Regions from separate parts of the Homo sapiens genome. Here regions 2, 3 and 4 are each linked to region 1. Evidence: promoter capture Hi-C in 16 types of primary human blood cells and fetal thymus (Javierre and others, 2016). All regions are on one chromosome and are shown on one strand. The core of a region is centred on a gene start or on the middle of the fragment in contact, and the rest is flanking DNA. Distances in the headings are between cores, read along the strand shown.

The links. Contacts are between HindIII fragments. The CHiCAGO score rates a contact against its expected background, and 5 or more counts as called.
Region 2: a fragment that was not itself captured here is called in contact with the fragment with the promoter of OSGIN1 in region 1 in 1 of 17 cell types (M2 macrophages); the score reaches 5.9 in M2 macrophages.
Region 3: a contact is called between a fragment that was not itself captured here and the fragment with the promoter of OSGIN1 in region 1, in 1 of 17 cell types (neutrophils). The highest score is 5.3, in neutrophils.
Region 4: a fragment that was not itself captured here is called in contact with the fragment with the promoter of OSGIN1 in region 1 in 2 of 17 cell types (monocytes and megakaryocytes); the score reaches 6.5 in monocytes.

Annotation. Positions count from the first base shown.
Region 1 is chr16:83,951,789-83,954,678 of GRCh38, reverse strand. OSGIN1 (oxidative stress induced growth inhibitor 1) reads right to left here and starts at 1,439. Exons shown (of 6, transcript NM_182981.3): 1 at 1,309-1,439. RefSeq lists an enhancer at 1-626 and a silencer at 1,115-1,164. The HindIII fragment of the contact is 5,629 bases long and covers 1-2,890 here.
Region 2 is chr16:84,099,548-84,102,601 of GRCh38, reverse strand. It overlaps MBTPS1 (membrane bound transcription factor peptidase, site 1), which reads left to right. Exons shown (of 23, transcript NM_003791.4): 2 at 495-981. The coding sequence starts at 819. Among named protein-coding and RNA genes, the nearest start is that of MBTPS1, 16 kb to the left of the region's middle. The HindIII fragment of the contact is 780 bases long and covers 1,034-1,813 here.
Region 3 is chr16:84,136,125-84,138,824 of GRCh38, reverse strand. All of the region lies in intron 1 of HSDL1 (hydroxysteroid dehydrogenase like 1), which reads left to right. Among named protein-coding and RNA genes, the nearest start is that of HSDL1, 7.7 kb to the left of the region's middle. RefSeq lists enhancers at 892-1,487, 2,682-2,700. The HindIII fragment of the contact is 1,703 bases long and covers 555-2,257 here.
Region 4 is chr16:84,152,700-84,155,485 of GRCh38, reverse strand. DNAAF1 (dynein axonemal assembly factor 1) reads right to left here. Exons shown (of 12, transcript NM_178452.6): 4 at 688-909. Among named protein-coding and RNA genes, the nearest start is that of DNAAF1, 8.8 kb to the right of the region's middle. The HindIII fragment of the contact is 1,342 bases long and covers 619-1,960 here.

The DNA of each region.
Region 1 (2,890 bases), core at 190-2,689:
CCACATACATGAGGTCACCACCCAGGGGCTGGACCTGAGAAGTCACTTCCCGTTCAGAGTGACACAGGACGCCCCAAAGTCCGAAGCAGCTTGACGCTGTCACTCATAACCTCGGACAAATATGCTGCCAACTTACAAAAGAGAGTTCAAAAGTTTCATTTCAATTCCTTTTGTGCTTTTTAGTTTTACGGAGTTGGAAGAATCAATTTTTAATGTTATCTTTTTAAGTCCCTTTAATTGAAGATGGCAGATGTTGATGGAAAGAAGTTAACATTAAAAATTGATGTTTCAAATTTCACAAAGGCAAACAGGATAAAAGAAATGAAAACAGTTGCACCTTCGACTGACGTTTCTTTCAAGTGTGCGGCATTTGTACTTCTGAGGTTGTTAAAGCTGCAAACTGCTCTGAGACTCTGGGACACCTGTATGTCTGCGTTTCTTTGGCACCTCTAGTGGCCATTTACTCCTTTGCCTTTGAAGACACCCCAGGAGGTGGGTGTTCTTATCCCCATTGTGCAGAGGAAGAAAAGCTGGTCAGGAGGAGTGGGCGTCTTGCCCCAGGTCACCTAGGAGGGTCCAAGACCACGGCCATGTGACAAATCTTAGTTCTGCCAAGTCCCCTCCAGTAAAACAGCTGATTACAGGGAGACCAAGAAAGTGACACGAAGCCCTGGGGGCGCTAAAGTGTGAGGGGGTGGTCTGTCCACGCAAGCGGCACTTGCCATTTATCACAGACGAGCCCTCGCCCCAGTGCCGCACACCTGGAGCCCAGGGTCTCCTGCAGCTCCCCAGCCTCCCAGGGGCCGCCCTCCCAACCCGCCGCACTCTTGAGCCTCCTGAGAGAAGCTAAGTCGCTGGGACCTCCAGGGATGGGGGCTGTTCATGGGCACCCAAGGGCTCTGTCCCTCCTGAGCAGGAGAAGCAGAAACCCAGAAGGCACCCAGCCTGGCTGCCGACCCAGTGGCCTTGGAACAGCTGGGCAGTAAGCCCGGGCTGGCCACACCCCTCTTTCCTGCTAGGAGCGGCGGTCACATGGCCCAGGGTACGCTGGGACTGTGGCCGCTTCAGCTGCTTGGCTGAGGGTACCAGGCACCTGGACAGGGACACAGCTGAGGATCTGGGAGGAACCTGGTGTAGGGGAGAATCCTGCCGGGCTCCAGAGAACCCAGGCGAGGGCCTCCACTCAGGACCACCCGGGACCCCCGCCTGGCGCCAGGGCTCTGCAGACCCTCCGGTCCAGCTGGGCTTGCCACGGGTGCCTGGGATGTGCCTGATTCCCTGCCCCGGAACCTGGCCCCGGACACTCACCTGACAGGCAGTGGTGCAGGAGCCCAGTGAGCCCGGCCAAGTTGTGCACTAGGAGGGTCAGGGGAACACGGATCACAGAGTCCCCCGCGAGATCGGGACACCCATTACCCTGTGGGGATCCAAGAGGCTCTGAGAGGCCAGAGGGAAGTGAGGGTATTTCACGGGGAGGGAGGAGGCGGCGCAGGCAGTGGGCGGGGCCAGGAAAATCACTTTCATAAGCGTGAGTCAGCAGGGGCCCGTGATGAATGAACTTGCACACTGGGCGGGTGTCACGCTGCCTGCCTCATGGCCAGCCTTAAAGGGCCCCTGCTGGGCGGCCTGCCAGGGGGCCTAGGGTGGCGCTCCCTCCCAGCCACCTCCCCCTAGCCAGACCCCCATCCCTGGGGCTCAGTCTCTGGAGGAGGAACCAGTGACCTCTGAATGAGCCAGCCTGGCCTTTGCCATAAGCGAAGAGGAGATGGCTTTGTCCCGCACACAGTTAAAATAACAGTACCTTTAAGTGGCGAAACCCCGTCCAGTTCCCGCATTCCACCTGGATTTCACTGCACCCTCCAATCCCCAAAAGCCCTCTGGCACCAGCCTGCCTGGGCTGCGAATCCAGCTTTGCCATTTCCCAGCTGCAGGGCTCTGGCAAGCTGCCTTAGGGCCCGCACCTCAGTTTCCTCATCTGAAAACTGGGGCCAAGTCACAGATTGTCTCTACCAGAGTGGCCGTGAGGGTTTACATGACATCCTTCTTGTCTGCCATGCTTAGAACTTGAAGCCTGCTCCCAGGCTCTTCTCTCCTGTTTTATGTGGGTAGCACTGCACACCCCACACCTTGCTGTTTCTTAATTATTATTATTTTGAGAAGGAGTTTCGCTCTTGTTTCCCAGGCTGGGGTGCAATGGCGCGATCTCGGTTCACTGCAACCTACGCCTCCCGGGCTCAAGTGATTCCCCTGCCTCAGCCTCCTGAGTAGCTGAGATTACAGGCATGTGCCACCACGCCCGGCTAATTTTGTATTTTTGGTAGAGATAGGGTTTCACCATGTTGGCAAGGCTGGTCTCGAACTCCCGACCTCAGATGATCCGCCCGCCTCAGCCTTCCAAAGTGCTGGGATTACAGGCGTGAGATGCCACACCTGGCCTATTTCTGAATTATTTTATTGTCTCTCTTCCCAAACCAGAATGTGAGCTCTGTGTGGGCAGGGAAGTATATTCGTGACTGCTCTACACAGTGTCTAGAACAGCGCTTAGGACACATAGGCACTCAACATCGGTTAAACAGAAGGGAGGCAGGGAGGGAGGGAAGCAGGGGGGGAAGGAGGGAGGAAGGCAGGGAGGGAGGGAAGTAGGGAGGGAAGGAGGGAGGAAAGCAGGGAGGGAAGGAGGGAGGGAAGGAAGGAGGTAGGGAGGGAAGCAGGGGGGGAAGGAGGGAGGAAGGCAGGGAGGGAGGGAAGTAGGGAGGGAAGGAGGGAGGAAAGCAGGGAGAGAAGGAGGAAGGAGGAAGGGAAGAGGGAGGGAAAGAGGGAGGAAGGGAAAGAGGGAGGAAGGCAGGGAGGGAGGGAAGGAGGGATGGAAGGAGGGAGGAAGGCAGGAAGG
Region 2 (3,054 bases), core at 174-2,673, 150 kb before region 1:
AAAGGATCATCCTGATGCCTTCTTCTCTTTGGCTGCTAGAATGCTCAGGTCCAGTGTGCTTAATATTTTTGGTGTTATTTTGTTGTCCTTACTTTTTTCCATTTTTCTCATTGATTTTATTGTTTTATTTTTGAAGATGCCTAAAAAAAATTTTCCCGTGAAAGCAGTGAGTAATAAGTAAATAAAAATGAAATAATATGTTTCATGGTTGTATGGCACATTAATTTGTCTTAAAACCAGGATATCTCTTTTACCCTCTTATTTATTTTATTATTTTATTATTTTAGACATAGGGTCTCACTTTGTTGCTCAGGCTGGACTCAGACTCCTGGGCTCAAGTGATCTTCCCACCTCAGCCTCCCAAGCAGCTGATCTACAGGCACCTGCCACCTTGCCTGGCTGACCCACTTGCTTAAATTATAAATACAACTAAATCATACCTGGCTATGTCAGTTTGCTACTAATGTCTGTGTGCACTGTTTTTTGTTTCATAGATTGGCTCACAGTGGTTGATTGATCAACCCCATTGGACGTTGGTTCTGTGGTACAAATGGAGTACAGGACTCAGTCGTCACGGCCTGAGTGAGAGAAGCCTTATTTCCAAGATGGAGAAGAAGCGGAGAAAGAAATGAAAGCCTCTCTTCAGGCTGAACCACAAAAGGCCATGGGATTTAACTTTTATTTATGTTGGGCAAGACTGTAAGATGGCTGATTAGTAATGTTGCAGCTTTTAGCTGAAACAAAAATTCACTTTTAATCAAGAAGAAAAAAGTGTGATTTGAATATATGCAATTTTATGATCATATTCGCTTGTGACCATGAAGCTTGTCAACATCTGGCTGCTTCTGCTCGTGGTTTTGCTCTGTGGGAAGAAACATCTGGGCGACAGACTGGAAAAGAAATCTTTTGAAAAGGCCCCATGCCCTGGCTGTTCCCACCTGACTTTGAAGGTGGAATTCTCATCAACAGTTGTGGAATATGGTAATGATGTTGTCTTAAGTATTAGGAACTCCCATCCTATTTTTTTAAAGCTTACTTAATATAAAATTAGCTATTGCTGAATAACATGTTCCTCTTTTCTACAGTAAATTTCTTTCTTTTTTTTTTTTTTGAGACAGAGTCTCACTCTGTCACCCAGGCTGGAGTGCAGTGGCATGATCTCGGCTCACTGTAACCTCCACCTCCTGGATTCAAGCAATTCTCATGCCTCAGCCTCCCAAGTAGCTGGGATTATAGGTGACTGCCACCGTCCCTGGCTAATTTTTTGTTTTGATTTGTTCTGTTTTGTTTTGTTTTGTTTTTGAGATGGAGTCTCACTCTGTTGCTGAGGCTGGAGTGCAATGGCACGATCTCGGTTCACTGCAACTTCCACCTCCCAGGTTCAAGCAGTTCTCCTGCCTCAGCCTCCTGAGCAGCTGGGACTACAGGCACCCGCCACAACTCCCAGTTAATTTTTTCTATTTTTAGTAGAGATGGGGTTTCACCACATTGGCCAGGCTGGTCTCGAGCTCCTGACCTCGTGATCCGCCTGCCTTGGCCTCCCAGAGTGTTGGGACTACAGGCATGAACTATCGTGCCAGGCCTTTTTTTTTTTTTTTTTTTGTATTTTTAGTAGAGACGGGGTTTCAGCATGTTAGCCAGGCTGGTCTTGAACTCCTGACCTCAAGTGATCACCCTCCTTGGCCTCCCAAAGTGCTGGGATTACAGGCATGAGCCACCGTGCCTGGCCTTCTGTAGTAAATTTCCAATGGGTTGAGTGCACAGCACATGAATGTTAACTTTGCTTAAGTTTGTTTTCCCAGTAGAGTAAGCTTATATGATAAAAGGAAATTGACATGAATTATTTACCTACACCTTCTTTTCTTTTTCTTTTGGAGACAGAGTTTTGCTCTTGTCGCCCAGGCTGGAGTGCAGTGGTGCCATCTCAGCTCATTGCAGCCTTGGCCTCCCAGGCACAAGTGGTCTCCCACTTCAGCCTCCTGAGTAGCTGGGACTACAGGCACCTGCCACCGTGCCCAGCTAATTTTTTTATTTTTGTTTTTTCTTTTTTCTTTTTTGAGATGGAGATTCACTCTTGTTGCCCAGGCTGGAGTGCAATGGCACCATCTCAGCTCACCGCAACCTCCACCTCCCAGGTTCAAGCGATTCTCCTGCCTCAGCCTCCCGAGTAGCTGGGATTACAGGCATGTGCCACCATGCCCGGCTAATTTTGTCTTTTTAGTAGAGACTGCGTTTCTCCATGTTGGTCAGGCTGGTCTTGCACTCTTGACCTCAGGTGATCCTCCTGCATTGGCCTCCCAAAGTGTTGGGATTACAGGCATGAGCCACTGTGCCCGGCCTGCCCAGCTAATTTTTTTATTTTTTGTTTCACCATGTTGCCCAGGCTGGTCTTAAACTCCTGAGCTCAAGCAATCCATCCACTTCGACCTCCCAGAATGCTGGGATTATAGGCATGAGCCACTGTGCCCAGCCTACACCTTGATTCTTTGGAACAGGTGCCATTGTAATTGGTGAAGGTGGGGAGCTGGGAGGTGCAGAATGTTTATGTTCTAAAGTTTGAGTGACCAGATGTGAAGAACTGAGCAAATAGTCTCACATAATCCACTCTGGAATTTTGTTACTGTTTTCGTTTTAAGAAACACTAACTGAGCATTCAGTTCTCTGAATTTCTTTTTCCTACTTGATAAAAATTATATACATTTCTTTGTTGTGTATTCAAACTTCTGTAGGTATTTGCTTTTTAAAAAAATATCACGGGTATCTGGTTTCGAATGATGTATTCTTTGTGGTTAGGTGATTCATAGAGATCTTTTTTTTTTTTTTTTTGAGACGGAGGCTTGCTCTGTCACCAGGCAGGAGTGCAGTGGTGCAATCTCTGCTTACTGCAATCTCCGCCTCCCAGGTTCAAGTGATTCTCCTGCCTTAGCCTCCCAGGATTATAGGCGCCCACCACCACACCCAGCTAATTTTTTGTATTTTTAGTAGAGATGGGGTTTCACTATGTTGGCCAGGCTGGTCTCAAACTCCTCACCTCGTAATCTGCCCACGTCAGCC
Region 3 (2,700 bases), core at 157-2,656, 180 kb before region 1:
TTTTGTAGTTGTAACGTTTCCTGTAGGTTTTTGATGACTCCTGCCCTGTAGAAGTAGAAAATGCTTAAAAGATAATAGGGACTTGCTCTTCTTTTCCTAGTTTGGGGACAGTTGTGGTTTTGTTTTGTTCACAGATGTTTTAGTTTTCTGCAGAGATGAGAAAACAAAGCTTAAAAATTTTTTTAAATTATTTTATATTTTTCCAACTTCATCGAAGTATAATTGACAAATAAAATTATATAAATTTAAGGTGTACAACATGATTTGATATATGTATACTTTGTGAAATGATCACCACAACCAAATTAGTTAACACATTCATCACCTCAGTTACTTTTTTATTTCTTTATGGTGAGAACACTTGAGATCTACCCTCTAAGCAGATTTTAAGCCTACAATTTGGTATTGCTCACTATGGTCACTGTACTGTACATTAGCTCTCCAGACGTATGCATTTTATATTTGAAAGTTTATACCCCTTTGACCAAAACTTCCCACCCATGACCCCACCTCTAGCAACCACCATTCTACTCTCTGTTTAAGAAAATAAAGCTTTAGAATAAGTTCTTGCAGGTAGATTGTACATGAATCAGAATTTTACTGTGTTTTAGTATTGCTTTCCACATCATGGGTTTCTCTAGGTTGCAGGCTGCCTTAGTTGGTTTTGAGCTGCTATAACAAAATACCATGAACTGGGTGGCTTGGAAACAGCAAACACTTACTTTTCGCAGTTTGGGAGGCTGAATGGTCCAAGATCAAGGTGGTGGAGCCCTCATTATCTGATCGCCTCCCAAAGGCCCTCCCTTCTAAACCATCACCTGGGGGGTTAAGATTCAAGACAAGAATCAGGGAGTGGGGCGGAACGCTCAGACCGTAGCACAGGTTAATAGCTTTCGCTAATCAAGCCACAAAACAGTAACTAGTCAGATACCTAAAGTAACTTTGACGAGGCTTGTTATCTACATATGCCTAAGTGGACTTCTAGGCTTAAATGTGTGATAAATTCCTTTGAAAGTTTCAGTGAGAGGCTATGAGCTTTTGAAATTTGGTGGCTCTGGGGAAAGTACTGATTTCTTTTGTCATGAGAAAAATGTTATTTTCCATCATGTACAGAAGGGTGGGGAAGAAGATTGAGAGCAGGGAATGAGTTTTAATTTCCAGTTCTCTAACATCTTTGGCCCATCAGGGTGTGAGTGAATGTGTGAAGTGTCTGGCAAGGCTGAGGAGCAGCAGAGGCCACAGAGCCTTGGCTCTCCGTGTGGCCCTCCTTCATCCCCAGCTGAGTAACCAGGGCTCAGGAGCCCCCCTCCTCCCCTGCTGCGTTACCTTCCTAAACAAGCCCCACCAGCTCCCTCCCTTGGTGCTCAAGGAGGAGGTCCATGCACTCCAGTCTGGCGTGAAGGCATCTCCAGTCTGCCTCTCCCAGTCTCCTTCACGCCTGTGCGCCTGCACACATGGGGCGTCACACAGGACAGCACAGCCTGTGCTGTGCATGCGGGGGACTTCCTAATGTTTCCCGAGTAGGCCAGACCCTTGACGGTGCCGAGCCTTTCTCCATGGGCCCGGGCCAGGGAGGTCCCTTCCCTCCTCTCTGCCCAGAAATTCTGCTCACACTTCAAGACCCATTTCACCCCAGTGGCGCCCTTGCCACCTCATGTTGCAGTTGCTCCGTTTATCTTTCTCTGACTTCTGTGTATACCGGGTGGCACGGAGTCCTGGTTTATTCATGATGGTGTCCTCAGTCTCTGACACTTTGTATTTTTCATTGCTGTTCTAGAAGTTTGGTTTTCCATGTAGATCTCGAGAGACTGTAGGACCAGTGACCGTGTGTGTTTAGGCCTCTTCGCTGTGTTGTTCACTATCCATTCCTAACTTGGCATTTGAATGTATCAGTCTTCTGTGGGTTTTGTGGATGTGAGTCAGATTTCTTTGTCTTGAGCTGCCTCTAAGGAATGAAGAACTTGGGTTTCTATCCATCAAGGCTGAGGACCAGACCTTGAATGCCATCAGCCCCCCTGATGCTCTGTGATTTTTAAAATATACATAGCAACAATAATATTAACACACGTTTAAGGTACTTGCACACGATGGCGCTCCCCTGACAAGAGGTGAGGGGTGTCTAGTGGGGGCGTTGAGAAGCTGGGCCATGATGGGCTTGAAGCCCCTCAGCCCCAGGTTCCTGTACTCACCTCTGCAGTGGGTGCATCTCCTCTGCTGGCCTGAGTGGGAGGTCCCTGGTGGGTTTAGCACACAAGCTTTTCTTTCTGTAAAGGATCAAAGGAATTTGTGGGTGGTCCGCTCCTGAGCTGAGGGCTGAGCGCTGGACAGGAAGACTGCCTGTGAGCTGCAGCCAGAGACTTGGTAGTGTTGAGCTTCTTTGTGCCAGGAATTGTGGAAGGTGCTGGAGAAACAGAGAGGAGTAGAATCTGGCCTCTGCCCTGGAGGACTATAGCCTGCTGGGGTGGTCAGAGACAGAACAGTTGCAATGCAGTGTGTGTGGTGGAGGAGAGGGAAAATGTGGACCAGGGGTTTCCTTTCATTTCCTCCTTAAAGCATCTGACCCACTCACAGCCTAGGGGGGCTGCCCCCAAACACTGTAGGACGCCTTCCTCCCTGCCACCCTGCCAGGAGATTAGACAGGTGGTGGGCACCTGAACTAAGGTGGGCGAGCCAGAATCCCTGCCAGGAATTTGGAAAGAG
Region 4 (2,786 bases), core at 40-2,539, 200 kb before region 1:
GGCTAAAGCGGGAGAATCTTTCGAGCCCAGGAGGTTTGAGACCAGCCTGGGCAACACAGTGAGACCCCATATCCACAAAAAGTAGAAAAACTTGCCAGGTCTGGTGGCACATGCCTGTGGTCTCAGCCACCTGGGAGGCTGACGTGGGAGGATCGCTTGAGACCAGGAGGTCAAGGCTGCAGTGAGCTCTAACTGCACCACTGCATTTCAGCCTGGGTGACAGAGCAAGACCCCATCTCAAAAAGAAGCAAAGCAAAACAAAACCAAAAACACTTCTTGGCTGGGCATGGTGGCTCACGCCTGTAATCCCAGCACTTTGGGAGGCCAAGGCGGGCGGATCACGAGGTCAGGAGATCGAGACCATCCTGGCTAACACGGTGAAACCCCGTCTCTACTAAAAATACAAAAAATTAGCCAGGTGTGGTGGTGGGTGCCTGTAGTCCCAGCTATTTTGGAGGCTAAGGCAGGAGAATGGCATGAACCCGGGAGGCAGAGCTTGCAGTGAGCTGAGATCGCGCCACTGCACTCCAGCCTGGGCGACAGAGCAAGACTCTGTCTCAAAAAAAAACAAAAAAAAGACAAAAAAAAACACCACTTCTTGCCCATAATATAAAAGCTTAGAACATCCCTCAGGGGAAGGTGATGGACATATGGCAAACAGACACACTGCTTGCTGGGTACCCTTACAGAGGTTTTCAATGGTCTTGATGTAATTGTTGCTGAGGTTAAGAGCATCCAGTTTCTGCAGAGGTTCCAGGTTCTCAATTTTACGGAGCAAGTTCATTTGCAAGAAGAGGCAACGCAACTCAGTTTGGGCCTCCAGGTTTTCGATTTTCTGTATTCCATTGCTCTGCAGCCAGAGACAGCGCAGCCCTGTGTACTCTTCCAGGTTCTCAATGCGATCAAAACCTAACAAAAAGGAAGCACGTGGGAATTAAGCTCCTACTCCCAGGGCAGAGGGGTCACGGTCACCCTTGTTTTTGCCTACTATTAGGAACTGAATGTCTGTGTCCCTTCAAAATTCATACATTGAAATCCTAACCCCTAATGTGATGGTATTAGGAGGTGGGACTTTTGGGAGGTGATAAGGTCATGAGAGAAGAACCCTCAGGAATGGGATTAGTGGTCTCATAAATGAGGCCCCAGAGAGCTTCTTTGCCATCTTCACCCCATGAGGATACAGCAAGAAAGTGCCATCTGCGAATAAAAAAGCAAGCTCTCACCAGTCACCAAATCTGCCAGTAGCTTGACCTTGGACTTCCTAGCCTCCAGAACTGTGAGAAATACATTTTTGTTGTCTACAAGCCACCCAGGCTACGGTTTCTTGTTACAGCAGCTCAAAACGGACTAAGACACCTGCCTACCTGGCATCCACACCTCCTTCCTCCAGTAGCAACTTTTCTTGGAGGAACCATCCTTTTCCTAATATCACCCAACGGCTCTCTGGCAGCCTATCAGAGTCACGGTGACTCATTCGGGGGTGGCCACACTTAGCCAAGCAAGGCGAACTTTGATGAATCCTAGGGGGTCTTGCTGAAAAGACTGGTAGTCTTTCTGCTGGAATTACCCACCTGGGAGGGTGGAGCCTACTGCTGCCTTCATGGTGGGGAGTGGGTGGAGGTGGGGGTGCAGTGGGGGTAACCCTGCCTTGAAAATGTTCCCACCAGGCCTGACCCTAGTGCAAACTGTGGGCCTTGTTTTGTTCTCTTTTTCAGTTTTATGAGCCAAATTTACGGTTAGGAAAACAAATCTTTTAGTTTCCTTTAGTAACTCGTCATCAATGTGTAATTCATGCCTTGACCTACTATTACCAACACTTTTTAAAGTTCTTTATTTTGTTGCCTGAAAAAGTTTTTATTAAAAAATTCTAATATCAATGGTGAGCAAAATAAAAAGAAATGCACCCATGTTCCTGCCAACAGATAATCCGTTTTCATTTTTCTCTCTCGCCTTCCAAGCTTGCTATAAGCACAAGTAATATTTAACATAGTTATAGAATACACTTAAACACAGGCATTGTATAGATAGACTTTTTAAAATCCTATATTTTTTCCACAAAAATTTTGGTTATTTTATTTCTTCAAGTTTTATTTTAAGTTGATGGGTTCCTGTGCTGGATGTGCTGGTTTGTGGCATAGGTAAATGTGTGCCATGTGGTTTGCTGCATAGGTCATCCCATCACCTAGGTATTAAGCCTAGCATCATTAGCTGTTCCTCCTGATGCTCTCCCTCCTTGCAAACCCTCTCCACAAAAATTTTTATAGTGGAAGTATTTGCCATATTGCTCCAAGGTCTTCATGCTGAAGTCAGTATCTATAAAAGATAGGATTTTTTTTTTCTTTAAGATAGCCACAACACCACTGTGACGTCTAAACAACAGTTCCTCAACGTCATCATCAAACAGCCAGTAACTGGTCACATTTCTTTGTTGTCTTTGTTTCCAAACTGTTTACTGTCTGAATCAACATACAAATAAGGTCCAAACCTTGTAATTAGTGGATGTCTCTTAAGTCACTTTTTTTTTTTTTTCAGATGGAGTCTGGCTCTGTTGCCCAGGCTGGAGTGCAATTGCACAATCTCGGCTCACTGTAACCTACACCTCCTGAGTTCAAGTGATTCTCCTGTCTCAGCCTCCTGAGTAGCTGAGATTACAGGTACCCGCCATCACCACACCTGGCTAATTTTTGTATTTTTAGTAGAGATGGGGTTTTACCATGTTGGCCAGGTTGGTCTCGAACTCCTTACCTCAGGTGATCCACCTGCCTTGGCCTCCCAAAGTGCTGGGA